Regions from separate parts of the Homo sapiens genome. Here region 2 is linked to region 1. The links are contacts of gene promoters, found by promoter capture Hi-C in blood cells and fetal thymus (Javierre and others, 2016). All regions are on one chromosome and are shown on one strand. Each heading gives the region's core, a stretch centred on a gene start or on the middle of the fragment in contact. The rest is flanking DNA. Distances are from core to core; before and after follow the strand shown.

Region 1 (7,417 bases), core at 626-3,125:
GTTCCCCCGCCGGAGCGGTTTTTTCCCTCCCCCGTCTTTCTGTCTGGCCCCTGCCCGCTTTCTCGGGGCGGGCACGCCAAGACCCAAGTCACGCGTGGGCCTGCCACGGGCCATCCCCGGCCGGGTGCATGCAGCTGCAGCAGGCAGCTGTGGGCAGCAGGCGCCGCAGCAGCCAGAGGCCCCACTTTGGGTTTCTGGGGGCGCAGCCGGGCTGCAGGCCCGCGGGCCGGGCTCCACCTGCAGCGTCCGCGCTGCCGGGGGCGCCGGGGAGGGCATCCAGGCGCCGCGCGCCCCTTACCTGCAGTGCCGCATCGCGCCCGCGGCCGCCCACCTGGACAGCATCCTCGAGCATCCTTTCTTCAGCGCGACGGCTGCGAGCGCCGTGACATCACCAGGAGGCGGGCCCCACGCTGCCACGTGACGCCCTCGGGGCGAGGCAGGGAGGTGTGCGCGGGGTGGGGGGAAGACCCTGGAAGTCCCGGGAGGTGAGGGTCGATGGCCAGAAACCCTCGCGCTGGCCGCCCCTCAGGCGTTTCGCTTGATGTGTGCAGCTTGCCTGGCCTTTCGCGAAGAATTATGAAAAACAACACACAGGAGGAGAAATCCAAATTATTACAGGCTCCAAGCGAGTAATAGGATTTCAAAAGAATTAGCAATAAAGGGATTACAGTGAAAGGAAATACAATTTCATGTTTTATTTTAAAACTAGTATTTATCAAATGCAGTGGAGAAATAAACATTTTGTGCAAATCAAAATGACACAAAATATAGCATGGACATACTTTGCCTAGAGTTTCTATGTTTCAAGCCGTATATCGAGTATTATACCAAACACTTTAGTTCAAAGCAATTCATTATGGAACATTATACTAATTGCACGGATGAATAATGCTTTAATTACTCTGAATAGCTGCATTCCAATATTAATTTGTATTTGCCAAAGGAAAAAATGGTGACACCACGTATTTCTACTACTTACTTAAATATGTGATGATTTAAAATAAAGCACTGCTACGTGAGCATGGTTGTATTTGTGTCTCTGTTTTCTTACATCTTCTGGCAAGGCATTTAATCTCTGAGACATGACTTAATTCACAATAACTCATTATTTCACATTTTCTAATCTTTATCACATTCTGAAGAAGTGAGTCATTTTACTATCACAGAAAATATGTACAATGTCAACATTTCTCATTCACAACTGAAACAGCCTTGCCTAGAAAGACTTTAGAAAATTACAACTGTGATAATTTTGTAAATTTGAAATAGCGTATTTCAAACTTAAGCAGTGCACATATAAACTTTTCTTTTGCCAAAATACACAAGCGTTTTTGAAATGTAAAAGGACAAAAGCAAAGACTGCTTTTATTTGTATTCCAATTGCAAATAGATTCATTTACTTTCACTTGAGTTAAAAATCACAATTTTAACATTCCCTTTGCTCACAGCCCTGAAGGAGACATGAAATAGATTGTTTTACAAGCAGGCTAGAGTTAAGTTTACTTGCAGTTTATTCCATCAGCTTTCGTGTCCTTCTATATTTAACCCTGGCCCTTATACCGTGATTCCCTCCAAATTAACCAAATTTCTGTTCAGAAGGTTAATCTCTAATTTGGGGATAAATACAGCCCTTGACTCTCACAGCGATCAATTATTTTCAACACCAGATTTTAAAAATCAACAAAGTCGCAGTGTACTTTACTAGGTCACTCCTCTCAAATTTGTTTTTCTGAGTGATAAGCAGCTTACCTTCCGCTTTCAGATTCTGAGATAAAGTTAAAACGCTACCGAAATCTCCTGCTCCTTTGGGTTGAGGGTCTAATGGAGGCAGAAACTGACAAGCTCATTTTCCTGCCAGAGGCAAATGTCGATTTCAGCCCGGAGGGCCCCGGAGGCCGGCTGGGAGCATCACGTGCTCGGCCCAGCCACTCAGCCCTGCCCAGCCAGCCTGGTCACCTCTTGGCTCCGGAGCCCCGCCGTGCCAGTGTCATTCGCCTCCTACCCCCGGAGCATTCGTGTCCAGAGAAAACCCGGCGTCCCGGAGACAGGACGCCCCACCCTCAGGGGCTGGGCTGCACGGAATTCTGTGACCGGATTTTCCAGCATCAATGGGAGGTGGTGGGTATACAAAATGCCCTGCAGCCTGAAGAGGATGGTAGCACGGTGCAGACAGCCTTGCTCCGTATTCCGGCTTGGCTGAAATGACGAAATACAGGCAACCTTCTTCATCCTGGAGCAGTTTTTTTGCAGTAGGTTAGTTTCACCTTCTCTTTTTTCTAGGTGATTGCTCAATTGTAAAAAACATTGCAGCAAACCGGCAATTCAGACAAGGCCCAGAACTGGGCCAAGCAATTCTCAACAGAATGAGAGAGCTGTCTGAACACCCTCCACCCTCGCCTTTCAAATTGTCATTTTAGCCAAGATTAAAAAACAAAACCAAAAAAAGCAAAAACCAATACCACCCATGGGAATGTAAGTTGAGCAATCTTTCTGGTGGTCTGTTTAGCATTTTTCCTACCAAATGCCTTACAGATACACAGTTTCGCCAATTACTCCGGGCCCTACAGCTGTTGGTATCATGTGCTCCAGCAACTTGATGTCCAAGAATTTGTCCTGGGGTGTGGGGAGTGGGGGTGGGGGGAAGAACGGTGTGCAAACCCCTGACTAGGGAAAGTTTGCTGCAATATTACTTATGATCTCAAAGCACTGGAAACAAGTTAAATCTCCAAAAACAGGGGATGTTTTAAATTATAAGCCATCTGTGCAGTGGAAGAATTAAAACTAATACGGTGGTACACACGGATGGAAAAAGACATGTGCAGCGGATTAAATGGGAAAAAAAATGGAAGCTTCAAAGCATTATGTGCTGAGTGATCCGTCGTTTCTATGTAGGTGTAATATATTTATATCTACACATATACCTTTGCGAACACAGAAAACTATTAGGAAATGAATTCACTAAAGTATCAAACATGGTATCTCACTGGTTAGTGGGATTAAGGGTGTTTTAAATTTTTCTTCTTTTAAGCTTAGAGATATCGTCTAATTTTTCCACAGTGAATATGTATTGCTTTTATAGCAACAAAAAAATTGTTTTCTTAAAAGCACCATATAGACATGATTATGGAATAAACAAACAGTTTTGGCTAATTTTTTAATGCAGATTTCATTACTTGAAGATCCTGAATTCTTAACCACAAAGTCCCGAGGGAACAATCCCTAGCCATCCTAGATTATTCTGCTCATGAAGATCTTTAGGAAAGAAAGTGCCATTCAGGGGCCGTTGTTAATATTTAACCATCTGTATGTCCAGTTTTAATTTCTCTTCCATTTAAACCTACTTCTTTTTACTTTGCTCTGTGTGGAGATAGAAAGCTGGTTATTACCATCCTTCATGAAAAGATTCTTTCAATAGTTACGGAATAATAACCTTTGAGTTTTTTGTTCATTCGAGACAGGGTCTCACCCTGTCTCCCAGGCTGGAGTGCAGTGGCACGATCATGGCTCACTGCAACCTCAAATTCCTGGGCTCAAGCAATCCTCCTGCCTCAGCCTCCCAAGTAACTGGGACTACAGGCTCTTTCCATTGTCTTCACAGATTTCTCTTTCCTATCCCTTTGAATCTTCTACATTTTTTCTCTTATCTGCCAGTTTTCTACAGATGTCATACAAGGTTTAGAACAGCGGTTCTTAATGGGGTGATGTTGCTCCCTTTCCCCCAGGGGACATTTTTGGCAGCCACAACTGAAGTGGGAGGAGCCGTGTGCTCCTGGCATTGAGTGGGTAGAGGCCAGGGCTGCTGCTGAACATCCTACAGTGCACAGGACAGCTCCCTCTCCACTCCTACCTCCCGGGACAATGAACATTTCGGCCCAAAATATCAGTACAATAGTGCTGAAGTCGAGAAACCCTGGTTTGAATTACTGATGGAGTATAATTTGATGCCCAAGATGTTCCATTTCCCAGCCATTTTCAAGAGTTCCCCATTGTATGATGTGCTGGAAGCTCTCTTCATTATAAATCCCTTAAAGGTAGTACTCCCAGCATGTGGGACGTGTCATTGCCCACCTGTGTGTGCACCACAAACCACCTCTGAAAAGAGACATCGGGAACTGCTAAGGGTGTTATCTCTAGGGAGGAAAACTGTGTGGCTTGGCACAGAGGTGGATGGGAAATTTTCATAGATTTGGATGCACTGTATATTTTTAAAACAGACATTTTCCCACCACTAAATTGTTAAAACTCACTATTCAATTATTCTATAAATGGTGGGTTTTACAAAACCTAGAGGTGAGGACCCTATTGCCTCTTTGTGTCCAAGCCCCCATATATATGTGTGTGTGTTTGTATATATATTATATATTATACATATATATTTTATATATATATATATATATATATTTTTTTTTTTAGACAGTCTTGCTTTGTCGCCCAGGCTACAGTGGTGCAATCTCAACTCACTACAACCTCCGCCTCCCGGGTTCAAGCGTTTCTTGTGCCTCAGTCTCCTGAGTAGGTGGGATTACAGGCGCCCACCACCACACCTGGCTAATTTTTGTATTTTTAGTAGAGATGGGGTTTCACTATGTTGCCCAGGATGGTCTCGAACTCCTGATCTCAACTGATCCGCCCGCCTCAGCACATGCACCCTGTAGAGAGTGCCTTCCTCTGCAGCATGTCATCTGATTCTCGCAGCAGCTGGTTAACAGGAGTAGGGCAGATCTGCTGTGCACCCATTTTGCAGACAGGCTCAGAGACAGCCCTGACATCAGCCTCCTGTTCTGATGGAGGCTGGAGCACCCTGGGGTCAGGCTAGGTCTTCTCTGGCCAGGACCCCAGCTTCTTCCCCAGGCGCCTCTGACCATCCCCTCCACCCTTCTTGGAGCCACAGCTTCCTGGGACCCTCTGGACAGCACTCACCAGCTTAGACCCAAATTATTTACTCGCATTAACCCCTGAGCTCCTGAGCTCCTGAGCTCCTGGAAGGACAGAGGGGAGCTGCATTTACCTGCTCTTTGAAAGCCCAGCATATAGCACTGTCTCTGGGATACAGTTTGTTACACCAGAACTAAAATTTTCCCAAATGTTCTCAGCCAACCGCTTTAATCATACACCATCTTGAAGTATTACATGGCTGTATTGCAGTATTACTGCCTGTGCTATTTTGCCAAGCTTCTGCAAGCCCCACTTTTCCCTTCTGTAAAACAAGGAGAAGGAGGAAGAGTAATAGTATCCACCACTTGTAGCTGAGTGAGACGTAAGTGAGAGATCTGGAAAGAGCACAAGCAGTGCCTTATTATTAGAATTTGAGACACAAGAAAAGTTGTGTACCCCTAAATACAGTGATCAAGATACCCTCTTGTATTTTGAACCAAGTGAAAAAAGTCAGTAAAGACCCTACAACCGAAACACACACGCACAGAAACTATGTATAATGCTCCCCGTGGCCCAATTTATTTGCACCCACATAAACCTCCCCTTCAGATACCTCCTGGCCAAGTAACCCCTCGCTGATTGGAATTGACTATGCTCCCTTGCCCAACACTGAAGGGGAGTGAAACAAACCACAACAGCCTGTCCTTATTTAAAATGTTCATATCTTGTACATTGTAATTTTCTGCACTAATTTTGATTTTATAAATTATATATGTACATATATATGTACATATATATGTGTGTGTGTATATATATACATATATATGTGTGTGTGTATATACATATATATATATTTTTTTTTTTTTTTTTGAGATGGGGTTTTGCTCTCGTCGCCCAGGCTGGAGTGCAGTGGCATGATCTTGCCTCACTGCAACCTCCATCTCCCAGGTTCAAACAATTCTCCTGCCTCAGCCTCCTGAGTAGCTGGGATTACAGGTGCCTACCACCACACCTGGCTAATTTTTGTATTTTTAGTAGAGACGGGGTTTTGCCATGTTGGCCAGGCTGGTCTCAAACTCCCGACCTCAGGTGATCCACCCACCTCAGCCTCCCAAAGTGGTGGGATTACAGGCGTGAGTCACCGTGCCTGGCCAGTATATTATCTTGATTACTGATTTTTGTGGTGCCCTCTTACGTTTTGCACCCAAGGTAAGTGCCTCCCTCACCTCCTCCAAATTCCAGCCCTGAGTATCTGGTAAATTATTCTATAAATGGGGGATCTTATAAAACCTGGAGGTGAAGACCCTATTTCATCTATCTTTGTATCCTGAACTCCTTTACACCTGAATACACCATCTCCAATGAATGAATGAATGAATGAATGAGTTGCTTCCATACCTAGCTGGGGGCTATGCACATGGCCAGCATCCTAAAAGATTTGGGGAATAAGTAAGTGACATGGGATATAAGAATATGCAATCCAGCCTTTTCTAGGCATTCTGGGCTGTGTTCACAGATCTCAGCAGACATCCAAAAGCTGCAAACTCAGACCCCATTGCCCTGACATCGATCCAAAGTGACAGCCTTGACTGACGTGACAAACAACAGCTTTGAAATCCCTCTGCTTTTGCAGTGGAGTGGAGTTGTTGTCAAGGACATTGTCTGTGCTGGGAAGCCTGAGAAAAGAGCCCGTGTAGCTCTAAGGCCTAAGAGAAGTGTTGCCATCCCTTAAAAAAACCATATGGTGCTTTTCCTCTCTGACAATAAGAACTGTGGAGCTGCCACTGTCTCCTTTTTCTCTGTGAGTGCCAGGAGACTCAGATGTTGCCAAGGCAATTCAGTAGGCCTGTCTCCTCCAGTAGGCATATGCACAGTGGCATGTCAGTCATCGTTAAATAACCCAGCTCTCCAAGGGTGGGGCATGGGGAGGGAGGCTTGATTTGTAGCTTGTGCTGATTCTCCTGGTGTAAATTCTCCTGCCATGCCTTGCTTCGAACTACTGAATGGGGAGCTGGAAACTGATGCACGATAGCCATCATTGGACAGCATCTCCACCACGCACAGACAGAAGTCAGTTATCTTATTGCACCTGGACAGTGAACAGCTTTTCTCACCCAGGACCTGGCCTCTGAGAAAAGCTGCTCCTTGTCCAGGTGCCTTGGGTTGGAAATGGGATTTTTCTAGAATTGCACTGCTCTATGGTAGCCACTAGACACAGTTACTATTTACATGAAAATGAATTTAACTTAAAAGTTCCAATTCAGTCCCTCAGTCACACTAGCCACATGTCAGATGCTCAAGAGCTACATGTGGCTTGTCACTACGGTATTTTAGCGCAGATATAAAACAATTCCATCATTGCAGATAATTCTATTGGATGATGCAGTAAAATATTTCTTTTAAACGAACTCCATTGCAATAAAACAATTTGTGTTTATTACTCATGGGATTCTGCCTGTAATTGCAGGGTAGAAACAGCAATCTGGCCAGAGCGTCTGTTAGTGGGAACAATGGAAAGGCACAGATTCCAGAAGGCCGTGTG
Region 2 (7,417 bases), core at 1,396-3,895, 970 kb before region 1:
CGGCTATGTGACTATGAGGCAACTGTAAATGCATCACAAAGATGGGGGTGGATGGAAGCTCAAAGGATTCAAAAGATGCCAGAGGAAAGTGAAGCTCAAATTGGGCCCCCTGGCCCAGCAGCATCAGCATCTCCTGGGAGCTCGTTAGAAACAAGAATTCTCAGCCGCCCCAGGCATACAGGATCAGGAATTCTGGGTGGGGGCCCAGCCATCTGCGTTTTAACAAGCCCTCTAGGGGATTCTGATACATAGTACACAAAAGCTTGAAAAGCATCTTGCTGGGGAAACCACAAAAGGGAGAGAGGTGGAAGGGGAAAGGCAGCAAGATCCAAAATGCTGTTCTAAGGCAATGCTTGGCCTGAACAATGTCAAATCATACTTTTAAAAAAATCCAGCTGAAACTAGAAATCATAAAATGATCACATGTTACATTTTACCTGAAAGCATAAATGTACATCATTTACTAATCTTTCAACAAGGAGCCAAGGCCTTTTGCATCTCTGGGTGCGGTGGGTCAGCAGTGCCACTTCATCCTTCTTACTAATGCACAGTGGATGAACCACATCCACTGTGCATCATCTATTCTTCCAGTTCCAGGGCTTTTTTTTTTTTTAACAGCAAATTTAAGAAACGACTACAAAGCAGTGAGTGAAAAATTATTCTGATTTTTATGATATTTTCTAAACCCCTTCCAGTTTCATGGCAACATTTTTTGGGATTCTCCTTCAAAGCCTTCCTTATCATTCATTAGTCTTTATATACTTGGCTTATGCATTTACATTGCATTGTCTGTTGTTTTGGTTAATTAAAATAATTACGTTACTGGCTCATGCTAAGCCGGCTGCTCAACTAGGAGGATGGGGACCTCCTGGCTGTAGGGATCAACCAGCACGTTTTTATTTCTTTTTTTTTTTTTTTTTTTTTTTGAGACGGAGTTTCGCTCTGTCGCCCAGGCTGGAGTGCAGTGGCGCGATCTCGACTCACTGCAAGCTCCGCCTCCCGGGTTCACACCATTCTCCTGCCTCAGCCTCCCGTGTAGCTGGGACTACAGGCGCACGCCAACATGCCTGGCTAATTTTTGTATTTTTAGTAGAGACGGGGTTTCACCGTGTTAGCCAGGATGGTCTCGATCTCCTGACCTCGTGATCCGCCCGTCTCAGCCTCCCAAAGTGCTGGGATTACAGGCATGAGCCACCGCGCCCGGCTATTTCTTTTTCATTTTTAAAAACAGCTATAATTACAAACCACACAATTCACTCATTTAAAGTATACAGTTCAATGGTTTCTAGTATAGTCACAGAGTTGTGCAACCATCAATTTTAGAGCATTTTTTAATCACCCCCAAAAGAAACTCCCACGTCCATTAGCAGTCACTCCCCATTCCTCCTCCACCAGCCCTGACAACCACGAATCTGCTTTCTGCCCCTATAAATTTGCCTATTCTGAGGGTTTCAAATAAATGGAATCATACGAAAGTGGCCTTTTGTTTCTGGCCTCTTTGAGCACAATGTTTTTAGGGTTCATCCATATTGTAGCATTTATCAGTACTTCATTTATTTTTATGGGTGAATAATATTCCATTGCATGGATATACCAACATGTATTTATCCATTTACTAATTGGTGAATGTTTGAATTGTTTCCAAGCCAGCACATTTTATAGAGGGAAAGGAAAGCACTGGTTAACTTGGAATTCGCTTAAGTGTAGGTCTTTTAAGAGTGTGTCTACTGATGTAGTTTATATAAAAACTAGTTTGAAATAGGGTTTCAAACCACATTGTTTTCCCTTAACTTAAAGATTCTCAACCTGAAAGATGACATAATTCAGCCCATTGTAATATGAGGCCACAAACATTTTGGTATGAAAGGAGCCTTTAAGATAATTTCAGGAAATTGAGACTTACAGGCCTAAGGTGGCTTGTCCCAAATCTCCCAGCTTAACACAGGGAATCAGTGCAGAAACAAAGCTCTCAAATCTTGTTTTATGCCATTACGTTAGCTACCACCTCCAGATTTAAAACCCTGGCATAAGAAAAGGGCTCAGGCTGGGCTTGGTGGCCTAAGCCTATAATCTCAGCACTTTGGGAAGCTGAGGCAGGCAGATCACTTGAGTTCAGGAGTTCAAGACCAGCCTGGGCAACATGGTGAAATGCTGTCTCTACAAAAAATACAAAAATTAGCTGGGCGTGGTGGCATGTGCCTGTGGTCCCAGCTACTAAGTAGGCTGAGATGGGAAGATCACTTGAACCTGGGAGGTAGAGGCTGCAGTGAGTCAAGATCGCACCACTGCACTCCAGACTGGGCACTACAGTGAGGCTCTGTCTCAGAAAAAAATTTTTAAAAAGGTTCAGATGAAGGAAAAAGACCTTAATGAAATGATGTCTAAGAATGGGATTTTAAATCAGCAGTGAAGGAATCCTCTTGTGGTCACTACATGTCCTCCTGATGATTTGTCTGAGCTAATCTAAGCATGAAGCACGCACAGGAACATAAAATGGGAGGGGTGGTAGGACACAGGCCCAGTGCTGAATTGGCCCAATTAGACTGAAGAGAAACCTTATTTCCCATGGTTGTGGTAGATGGCCGGGTCCCACCCCACCTCATATCTACTGACCATAAACAAGGATCTCAAAGCAACTAGGAAGCATTGACGCTGATGAAAGGAACCAGCCCTACATGGATGAAGTTAAAATTGAACATGGAAGGAAAGGGAGTCCAGAGAAGCAGGATCAACCAAGTGTACACCCAACCTCTGCACTTCTGGCTGTGAGTTCAAGCAGGGATTCACTTACTAGAAGCCAAAAGCATCCTGATAATATTCTATAGCAAACCATTGAAGGGGCACGGGAATTAGTCACATTGTTATCCCAAATGTAGAAGGAATAGCAAAGTGTTTAAATGATGATTCTGCACAGAGCTCCAAAATAGTAACTTTCAAAATAGTAACTTTTCATTGTTCTTTAGGACTTCACTCGTCTATGATTGTGAAGACTTGTCTCACAATTCCTCTGTTACAACACTCAAGATGTATTATTTCTGTGCCCCTATCACATATGACCTTTGGTGTGTAAAAGCATCAATGAAAAGCTAATTATAAATACAAGATAGCACCCATATGTACATGCCTCATTCCCTAAACCAGTCTTAGGAACTATGTTTGCTCCTGCATCTGGTATGATTCCACAAAAACATTAGAATACTTGCAATGTGATGTATAAACCTCCGGTTGAATCATTTGCAGAAAGTGTTGTCAGCTTTTTCTTCCAAACTAGAGAGTGCACAAGCATGAAATAGACACTTTACCACTTACACCAATGGCATGAAATTTTACTGAAGGTACAGTGACAATCTCTACTGCAGCAGTAAATGTTTTTCTTTTTAAAGTTCAGAGGCACATGTGCACACTTGTTACATAGGTAAACTTGTGTCATGGGGGTTTGTTGTACAGATTATTTTGTCACCCAGGTATGAAGCCTAGTACCCATTAGCTGTTTTTCCTAAGCCACTCCCTCCTCCCACCCTCCACCCTCCAATAGGCCCCAGTGTGTGCTGTTCCCCTCTGTGTTCTTATCATTTAGCTCCCACTTATAAATGAAAACGTGATATTATTTGTCATGAGTGGCGCAAGGCATAATTCATATGCTTCATTTTGATATACTATATACCCCCCAAATTATATAATTTTTTAAATGTTACCTTAAGTTACAAGGAATATACATGGCTTTTGAAATAATTTTTGATCTTTTTCTTTGCAGTAAACAACCTTGTAATATGTTTTGAATCCGGATATGTAATATATTTTCACAGAGGGGGATAACCTTGTGACCCAAAGGACATTACAGTGAGCTATATTTTAGATTAAGAAGCACAAGAATCGCAGCACTTTGGGAGGCCGAGGTGGGTGGATCACTTGAGGTCAGAAGTTCAAGACCAGCCTGACCAACATGGTGAAACCCCATCTCTACTAAAAATACAAAAAAATTCGCTGAGTGTGGTGGTAGGCACCTGTAATCCCAGCTTCTCAGGAGGCTGAGGCACAAGAATCACTTGAACCCAGGAGGTAGAGGTTGCATTGAGCCGAGATCATGCCAGTGCACTCCAGCTTGGGTATCTGTCTTAATATAATATTTCTTTTTGTCAAGTGGGACTTGCATATCAAGTACCTAATTTGTTACCCTGATATTTTTTGAAAGATCAAAGGCTGTAACCTGTTCTTTTTCCATTTGATGATTTTAAATAACATGAGCTTTCTTAGAGCAAGCACCCAAACACCTGGTAATCCTTAAAATTGATCAAAATGGGGATTAGAGCCTGCTGTTACCCCTCTAAACTGATTCTCCTGGTGGCGGAGTGGGGCGGGGAATAAGGCCAGAGGATGAGAGAAGTAGATTATATCTCAGCACTTTGATTTCTCTCCTTGCTGTTGTTGATCAATGGTGATAGCTAATATTTGCTGAACATTTCCACCCACAGACTCTGTTCCCAGCGCTTTTAGGCATCACCTCAAAGTACCTGCAAAACAACTCTGATAAGTTGGTTCTATTACTCTCATTTCATAGCCGAGAAAGCTGAGGCCCAGAGACATTAAGATCACACAGCGACTAAAGGGCAGGGCAAGGACTCTGCCTCCAGGACACACATTTGTAATCATCACACACACAGCCTCAAGCCTATGGTGACACAAATGACGGGTCATACAATTCTGACAGTCACTGCAAAGGTGAGACAGGAAATGTGCATTGCTTCATTTTCCCTAAGAAGCAATCTCTGGGAGAAGATAAACCATAATGATGACTCAGTAAAGAAATTGGTAACTATCTCTAAATATTCAAAAATACTTACGTGAATTCTCACACTGTGTGTTACCACAATGTGTTCCTTAAATTGGAGTTCTAGCATTTACCACCATTTCATTTATAGACTGTCCATAAGATTGTTGAGTTCCCTGCAAGTAGGGGTATTAGTCTGTTCCCATGCTGCTAATAAGGACATGCCCAAGACTGGGTAATTTATAAAGGAAAGAAGCTTAATGGACTCACAGTTCCACATGGCTGGGGAGGCCTCACAATCATGGTGAAAGGCGAAGGAAGAGCAAAGGGATGTCTTACGTGGCAGCAGGCAAAAGAAGTTGTGCGGGGAACTCCCATTTAAAGAACCATCAGATCTCCTGAGACTTATTCACTACCAGGAGAACAGTATAGGGGAAACTGCCCCCATGATTTAATTATCTCCACCTTGCCCTGCCCTTGACACGTGGGGATTATTAAAATTCAAGGTGAGATTTGGGTGGGGCCACAGCCAAACCATATCAGGGTTATACCTTTTGCAATTTTGTATTCCTTATACGATGCACAAAGGGGACATAAACATTTTGTTAGCCAGTGACTGACAGGAATACTAAATGTTAATATGCAATCCATTTGTAGCCCCAGCTTGTCTGCCAATACTTAGCCTGATGTTCAGTAATTTGTTCTGATTCTGAATAGTGCTATTTCCACAGACACAAGACTTAGTTTAAAACTCCAGAGAATATCCTAAATGAGTTTCAAGCTGTACACGAAAACTCCTATCAGTATTGACCCCTGGACCCAATCAAGCATAATCTAGACACAAAGCAGCTCTGACAATCCAGGAAGCCATGGTTTTTTCTGGAAGTAGTAAAACGATGTATAAAACTTGATCTTGTCATCAAGTTTGCTTGAGTTTAAAGCTTGTTTACCACAGTCCTATAAAACAGGTGAATCCTGCCTTTGGCATATTTTTTGTTTCCAGTTAGTGTTTTGTCTTTCATAAGAATGTCTTATCCCACACTCATTCGATAGCACTTAAGACCCCCCCAAAAAATGCCAACAGTAATTATTTTCCTCTACAGTTTAAAAATATGTGATTAGGGCTGGGTGCGGTGGCTCACGCCTGTAATCCCAGCACTTTGGGAGGTCAAGGCGGGTGGATCATGAGGTCAGGCGTTCAAGACCAGCCTGACCAACATGGTGAAGCCCCGTCTCTACTAAAAATACAAAAATTAGCCAGGCGTGGTGGCATGCACCTGTAATCCCAGCTACTCGGGAGGCTGAGGCAGGAGAATCGCTTGAACTCGGGAGGTGGAGGTTGCAGTGAGCTGAGATTGTGCCACTGAACTTCAGTCTGGGTGACAGAGCGTGACTCCCATTTCAAAAAAAAAAAAAAGATTAGTAGATGAAAAAGTGGCTGCTTGGAGTAGGGAGACTATAGCATTGTTTTTTTTAAAAAAAAATTATTATACTTTAAGTTCTGGGGTACATATGCAGAACGTGCACTTTTGTTACATAGGTATACACATGCCATGCTGGTTTGCTGCAGCCATCAACCCGTCATCTATATTAGGTATTTCTCCTAATGCTATCCCTCCACTAGCCTCCTCCCCACCCCCCCCAACCCCCCCCACCCCCCCCCGGCCCCGAGACGGGCCCCAGTGATGTTCCCTTCCCTGTGTCCATGTATTCTCATTGTTCAACCCCCACTCTTGAGAACATGCGGTGTTTGGTTTTCTGTTCTTGTGATAGTTTGCTGAGAATTATAGTTTCCAGCTTCATCCATGTCCCTGCAAAGGACATGAACTCATCCTTTTTTGTGGCTGCATAGTATTCTGTAGTATATATGTGCCACATTTTCTTTATCTAGTCTATCATTGATGGGCATTTGGGTTGGTTCCAAGTCTTTGCTATTGTGAACAGTGCTGCAATAAACATATGTGTGCTGGGTTATAAATCATTCTATCATAAAGCATTGGTTTTATAAAGATAATACGTCTGAAGAAACAATCGTTAAGTGTAAAATTATTCCAAAAAATTTTCAAAACCTGTGAACTAATCAGCTTTATTTTAAAATATACAAGTATTTTGAAATGTAGAGTTTAAGGCTGTTCTATTTCTTAAACTCCACACAAAACTGACAAATCCATACCAAATTAATCACCCACAGACTGCCAATTTCATCCACTAATTTAACACTACAGCATTCAGGATAAATTAAAGGATTTAATAGTATAGACAGTTAAAAAAAAAAAGCAGTCATTTGTAACATGCTGCTATAAATAGAACAACCAGTTTATGGATTACTGGTACAAAAAGTTTCAATGGCAAACTTAGAGCTTCCTTAAAACAAACAAAAAAAATCTAGACTGAGTTGAAGCGTTCTCCATCTGGGAAAAAAATGCTCATCTTGTGAATTTTAACACTCAGCCAAATATAAAATCATGTTTTAGAGGGGGACCATCACTGATACTGGGACTTAAGCCAGGCTTTCAAGGTTTGGATTAGGCCGACTGATGTGGGGAAGGGTGGAGGCTGCCAGCAAAGGAAGAAATGAGATTCGAAGTTGGGATAACTTGTCAAATGCCAAGGACAATGAGGAGACCTGTTTGTTGGGAGCAGAGTTAC

Evidence for each region. Contacts are between HindIII fragments. The CHiCAGO score rates a contact against its expected background, and 5 or more counts as called.
Region 2: a fragment that was not itself captured here is called in contact with the fragment with the promoter of CLCN4 in region 1 in 2 of 17 cell types (naive CD8 T cells and non-activated CD4 T cells); the score reaches 6.2 in naive CD8 T cells.

The regions. Positions count from the first base shown.
Region 1 is chrX:10,151,433-10,158,849 of GRCh38, reverse strand. CLCN4 (chloride voltage-gated channel 4) reads right to left here and starts at 1,875. Exons shown (of 13, transcript NM_001830.4): 1 at 1,750-1,875; 2 at 299-561. The HindIII fragment of the contact is 3,563 bases long and covers 1-2,851 here.
Region 2 is chrX:11,122,497-11,129,913 of GRCh38, reverse strand. It overlaps HCCS (holocytochrome c synthase), which reads right to left. Exons shown (of 7, transcript NM_005333.5): 7 at 6,828-7,417. Among named protein-coding and RNA genes, the nearest start is that of HCCS, 15 kb to the right of the region's middle. The HindIII fragment of the contact is 4,762 bases long and covers 265-5,026 here.